Regions from separate parts of the Homo sapiens genome. Here region 2 is linked to region 1. The links are contacts of gene promoters, found by promoter capture Hi-C in human tissues and cell types (Jung and others, 2019). All regions are on one chromosome and are shown on one strand. Each heading gives the region's core, a stretch centred on a gene start or on the middle of the fragment in contact. The rest is flanking DNA. Distances are from core to core; before and after follow the strand shown.

Region 1 (3,124 bases), core at 112-2,611:
TGAGCAACTTGGCCAGAACTGCCCACAGCCTACTACCCAGGAGGAGGAAGAGGAGGAGAGGGAGTGGGAAAAAAAGAGGGAGGAGGAGGGGGAACAGAGGAAAGGGTGGGAAGGTTGAGAAAGGGGAAGGAGGAGGGGGAGGGAAGGTTATTCGTATCAACAACTGTGGCTACACCAATCACTGCCACCCTTGTGGGACCCACAGCCACTGAGTCTCCGCCAACTCAGCTCTCCCCCTCCCCCGCCCCCATACAAACCAGGACAAGCTTGTAAGGAGAAGGAGTAAGACAGCCCCAAGGCACACGACTCTGATGTCTGAATTCTGGCTGGGGAGGGGGAGGTGTCTAAAATTTCCTTTGGCTTGTATTATCACTATGTATTAGCCTCCAGATGCTTATCTTTAAAATGAGGACGAGAAAAGTCTCTACTTCTAGAAGAGCTGGGGGACTAAATTACACGTGCAGCTTTCGGTCAGCCTGAGCCAGCGCTGTCACTGAGCCTTGGATTTGTAAGTGGCTCAAAAGTAAAAAGACGGAAGAAGGCCGTGCAGCTCTACTTCCCCCAAGGCCAGGAAGGGCCAAAGCAATGACTTAGGAAGTGGGATGTTTCCCCACCCTAGGCAAAGGGGCGAATTCCGAGTTCCCCGGAGGAAGCAGCAGCTCTGCAGACTCGGAATTACCTCGTCCTCATCTCCAGTGAAGGGAGGGATGGAAGTGGGGGCAGGGGCACAGAAATGGTACAAATCCTTCCTAATGGTCCCTGGCCAGAGCTCTGCCCATTCCTGAAAGTGTGACCTTGGGAAAGTGAGACCTTGGGAAAGTGACTTCGCCTCGCCAAGCCTCAGTTTCCTCATCTGTGCAGCGGGCATAAGGGCAGCATCTAAGGTGCAGAAATGCTTCTGACGGGTCAGATAACACCTAGCCCGCAGCCGACGCTCACAGCCGCCGATTCAGACCCGCCCGGGTTCCGCAAGCCCCAGGCTGCCCCTGAGCCACCGCCCAGGCCTCAGCCTCGGGCCATGCGGACCTCGCCGCCGCCACGCCCCGGACCCCAGGCCCCGGGCCCCCAGGCCTCGACGGCCAGCCGCACCCGGGCTGCGGACTGCGGCCCGGGCCCCCTCCCCGCTGGGCCCCCGACTCACCGGTGTAGTGCACCACGCAGGTCTGGCCGCGCTTGGGGAAGGTGCGCCCTGAGGAGACAGAGACGGGCATGCTGAGCCGATGCGCGCGGCGGCAGAGGTACTCCGAGCCGCCGCGCGCCACTACTCACCGTCTCCTGGGGAGATGGTTTCCACCTGCACTCCCATGGCGGCGGCGGACGCTGAGCGGGCGGGCGGCGCGACGGGCGGCGTGGACCAACAGCGACCTGGCGGCGGTTCCACGGCTCTGCCTAGTACCTCGGCGCGTCGCCTGCGCACGCGCACGCCCCCTCACGCCCAGCCCTGCGTGCGCGCCCCACACGGCGCGCGACGTCCCGGAAACCCAGGCCTCCGGAAGAGGGACCGGAAGCCCAGAAGCCCCGAGACCTCCGGAAGCCCGGAGGCCTCCGGATACAGCTGTGTTTGCCGGGTGACTTGCTTCGTTCTCCTGCCCTTCCTCTGTGCTTCCAGCCGGTTAAGCATCTCCCTGCCCAAAGAATGGGAGTAATAATAGGGGGTCCGCCAGTCACTGACTGGGTGACTGTCATCAGGTTTCCACTTAGAAGCACACAGTTACTCATCCTGGGAAGAGCATGGTTCTGAGAAGACAGCGCACAGGTGGTGGTAGTATGTTAGTATTTTATAAGTGGCTCAAGGTTGTAAGTTCTGCTTTTCTTCACTGGAGGAGGAGTTGTCCAAATTCATTCACTCACCCATAGCTTACATGCATACATTCTTATTGAGCATGTGAAAGTTGATAATACGAATTGGGTCACTCTTCTTATGCCCAACGGAATCAGAATCCAGGGGCCAGGGGAAAAGCACTGGAGGCACGCAGCGCCTGCTCCAAGAACCAATATTTCCACTAACTGCTGCGGAAATGGCCTGCTGTCCCCCTGAGACCAGATTCAGCTAGTAACTGCTGAAACAACCCGCCATAACCTAATACTAGTTTTACTTACCACTGTCAGTCACCAATCAGAGCTTGCCAGCTCCCTGAAACTTTACTAGTGCCAATGCATTTCCCTTTCTAATAAAACGCCCAGCCTTCTCTTTGTTTTTCGGACATACCAAAGACCACCAGATCTGTGTGTATGCTCCGAGTTGCGATTCTCGCTTCCCCAAATAAAACATTACATTTAGAGATTCATCTCCATATTTTATTTTGACTTTGACAAGCACCTTCTGTATGTCATGTACTGTGCTAGGTGCTGAGGATACAGCGGTGAAGGAGTCAGACTTAGTCCCTGACCTCACAGAATCTACGTATGATGTGGGAGAGATAATCAAATAACCTGTTTAAGTAAAAAAAGATACGGAATAAATGTAAAGTTTCAAATCTGTAATATTATGAGACAGTAATACATGCTGTGAGGGGCGTGTTAATATAACAGAGATGCCTCACTTAGTCTGGAATGTGGTCAGATATTTCCCTGAGTTAGCCAGGTTTAGCCAGGTTTAGCCAAGGTTAGAAGGCCAATTGTGTGTATGTGTTGGGGTAAGGGGAGGCAGAAGGAGCAGTACCTGCAGAGGCACTGTAACGCAAGAGAACACTGTGACATGGTCTAGGACATAAGGAGGCACATGTGACTAATCTTTCTCTGATCTGTGTGTGTGTGTGCTTCTGCATTAGTCGATTCTCACACTGCTATAAAGAATACCTGAGGCTGGGCACGGTGGCTCATGCCTGTAATCCCAGCACTTTGGGAAGCTGAGGCGGGCAGATCACTTGAGGCCAGGCGTTCAAGACCAGCCTGGCCAACATGGTGAAACCCAGTTTCTACTAAAAATACAAAAAAATTAGCCAGGCATGGTGGCACAGGCTTGTAATCCCAGCCACTTGAGAGGCTGAGGCATAAGAATTGCTTAAACCAGGAGGCGGAGGTTGTAGTGAGCCAAGATTGCACCTCTGCATTCCAGCCTGGGTGACAGAGTGAGAACCAGTCTCAAAAAAAAAAAAAAAAAAAAAAAATTCCTGAGACTGGG
Region 2 (3,084 bases), core at 259-2,758, 150 kb before region 1:
TCAAACCCAAGAGAGGGAAATAACTGATGTCTGGTCAAGAGCTGACTTCTGGTCCCCTGGAACTATCAGTGTAGTGTTGTGATTGTCAGGATGCAGGCTCTGGAGTCAGAGAGAGCTGGGTTCAGATCCTGACTCTTGTCATTTATTATAGTGTGACTGTGTGCAAGTTACAAAACCTTTCTGTGGATGTGTTTCCTCATCTGTACAATGAGAATTATAATAGTATCTTCTATTACATAATATAATACATACTATAAACACTCGGTTACTGTTAGCTGACTGGGTTTGTCTTTTTTTTTTTTTAACGGACCTCTATCACTGCCTCCTAGCATATTCGATATTTATTGAATGAATGTTGTAAGCCCATTCTTTAATATTTTACCTACGTTTCCATTTCCTGAGATGACTAACATGTTCCTTATTTTCCAAACCTCCACTATGCATGAACACTACAAGCAATTGTCCTTGAAATACTATGAAATATACTTGGTCAAGCAGAACTTACTTACCTAAAATAGAATAAATTATTTTCCATAGTACTTTTACCTTAGGAAGTTATTAAACTATATCACAACTATAAACTCTATGTAATATGTTGGCATTTTTTCCATTGTATTTGAAAGGGCATTAGACTAAAAATCATGTCTCTACTGATTGAGTGACCTTAGTTGAATAATTCAAGTAAGTCTTTCAGCCATTCTCTTCATCTATAAAATGAGGTGTTGGATGACAAGATTATGCTAGATGATATCTGAATTTCCTTCTAACCCTATAATTCTGTGTTTCTATGAATTAGTATTAATGATATATATTTATTTAGGGGAGGAATCTGAAATTCTCAGAAGACATAGCTTCTTTGATGACAACATATTACTGAATTCCAGTGGTCCTTTAATTGAACATAGTTCTGGAAGCCTCACTGGAGAACGATCTCTATTCTATGACAGTGGAGATGGGTTTGGAGATGAAGGAGCTGCAGGAGAAATGATTGGTATGCTATCTGGTCATGTGGAAATAAAATATTTATTTTCATCAAATTACTACAATATATTAGTAGATTTATTATATCAATCTAAAATTTCAAATATGTTTTTGTGTTATGTAGGTCAATACTTTTTTTTATACAAGTTTTCAAAGTCTGTGGCATGTTTAAACATTTAGGCTAGGCCTAAGTAAATAGCCGTCTGTTTAAATATATTTTCTATAGAGGTTATGAACTACTGCTTGTTTTTATTTTTACAAATTCCTAATTTTTGGAGGGGAGAGAGTGAGGTTAGTATATTCCTTATAAAATATACTAGGCTATGTACTGGAAAACATTGTTTTCTTTAACATACATTGTGGGGCAGCTAAGTTATTTTCCAGAATTTTATATTATTATTTTATATTTATATTCCCCTGCTTAAGGCCTTGGGTCCCCATGACTTACTGTATCAAATACCTCTACCTATCCTCAAGGCCTTCTACCAATTTATTGCCTTCTTTATTTTATCAGTTTTATTTGTTTTACTCTTAACATAGACTATTTCACATTATAAAATAGTCATAGAAATCGGGTAGAGAAAAACTAAGAAGTCCAAATGCACATGTTTTATTTATTATTATTATTATTATTTTTGAGACGGAGCCTTGCTGTGTCGCCCAGGCTGGAGTGCAATGGCACCATCTTGGCTCAATGCAACCTCTGCCACCTGGGTTCAAGTGATTCTTCTGCCTCAGCCTCCTGAATAGCTGGGATTACAGGTGCCCACCACAATGTCCAGCTAATTTTTTTTCTAGTTTTAGTAGAGATGGGGTTTCACCATGTTGGTCAGGCTGATCTCAAACTCCTGACCTCAGGTGATCCACCCGCCTCAGCTTCCCAATGTGCTGGGATTATAGGAGTGAGCCACTGCGCCCAGCCAAAATGCACGTTTTAAAGATTATTTATTGGCTGTTCCTATCAAATCTTTTTTAAAATTCTCTAGTTCACATTAAAGATCTGGTTATTCCTTTACAATGAAATGCATAAAGTAACATTAATAAATGTTTAGTGAACAAATGACAGATTCCAGTCTGTATGAAAAAATATTCATTGTGTTTTTCAAGACAATCTATTGCAAGATGATCAGAATATCCTGTTAGAAGACATGCATTTGAACAGAGAAATTTCCCTGCCTTCTGAGCCTCCCAATAGTTTAGCAGGTAGGTTGAAATTTTCCTTTATGAGAAAGTAATGGGTTACTAATGTTTAAGCCTCAGAACTTCTGAATTTAAGTAGCAATATAGTATAGTGAAAGATAAAGAACAATGTCTTTCAGACTCTGTTAGTCTGACTGTAGACAATATAAAATAGGAAATTGGATTCTGATAAAGGTACACTGAAGGGTATTTAGCCAGGATTGGGCTTAGCATGAGAGAACTCTGCCAATATATTGTGCTTTTTGAATTATTAAAATAGTATATGGTAAATGGTAAGAAAATTTATTAACTAGTATGGTTTGATAATCTACATACAATTTGAGAGAAATTACAAATTGAGGATATTTTCCCTATTTGAAATTCATACGGAAGTACCTCAGATGATTTGAGGTATTTTAGTCTGATTTTTCTTAAGAATTAAAAGTACAATTAGCCCCATTTTTTATTTGCCACAATTTTTGATGTTATATTTGCTTTCTAAAAACAACAGTAGAAACTGAAAATACAAAGAGCTAAAAGTAATAAAATTTTACTTATGGTTTTTTATGGATCAACTGATAAGTGATTTAACAGAATAGAATTTTTTTTTAGCAGACATATAGTCAAATTGTTATCAGTCATTTACTGTAGTTGCTGCCACTGTTTTCACATCTGCTGTGACTTTAGCCCACCCTTAGATGTCTCATGTGCAAAAGGGGATGATGATACTTGACTCACTCGAATACTGTGGGTCCCACACCATATAATCTGTAAGCCTCTTCAGCTCTATTAAATAAATGGTTCTAAGAATTCAGATGTTCCAGTTAGTAATATAAATCTTCAGTTAGTTTATCTTTATCTTTAATTCTCATACAGTCCTCTAGCCTGCATCCTAACTGGTTTTTTTTACAATTACTTTTATGT

The links. The method cuts DNA at HindIII sites, captures the fragments that hold promoters and counts their contacts. A contact is called where the count stands out against the background at its distance.
Region 2: a contact is called between a fragment that was not itself captured here and the fragment with the promoter of FKBP1A in region 1, in 1 of the 25 tissues and cell types used here (H1 embryonic stem cells).

What each region holds. Positions count from the first base shown.
Region 1 is chr20:1,391,693-1,394,816 of GRCh38, forward strand. It overlaps FKBP1A (FKBP prolyl isomerase 1A), which reads right to left and starts at 1,362. Exons shown (of 5, transcript NM_000801.5): 1 at 1,270-1,362; 2 at 1,142-1,189. The coding sequence starts at 1,306. FKBP1A-SDCBP2 (FKBP1A-SDCBP2 readthrough (NMD candidate)) reads right to left here and starts at 1,480. Exons shown (of 10, transcript NR_037661.1): 1 at 1,270-1,480; 2 at 1,142-1,189. MIR6869 (microRNA 6869) reads right to left here and starts at 1,269; the gene lies at 1,208-1,269. RefSeq lists an enhancer at 754-1,254 and silencers at 989-1,058, 1,069-1,168, 1,369-1,418. The HindIII fragment of the contact is 6,579 bases long and covers 1-3,124 here.
Region 2 is chr20:1,237,224-1,240,307 of GRCh38, forward strand. It overlaps RAD21L1 (RAD21 cohesin complex component like 1), which reads left to right. Exons shown (of 14, transcript NM_001384355.1): 6 at 821-991; 7 at 2,089-2,184. Among named protein-coding and RNA genes, the nearest start is that of RAD21L1, 13 kb to the left of the region's middle. The HindIII fragment of the contact is 5,639 bases long and covers 1-3,084 here.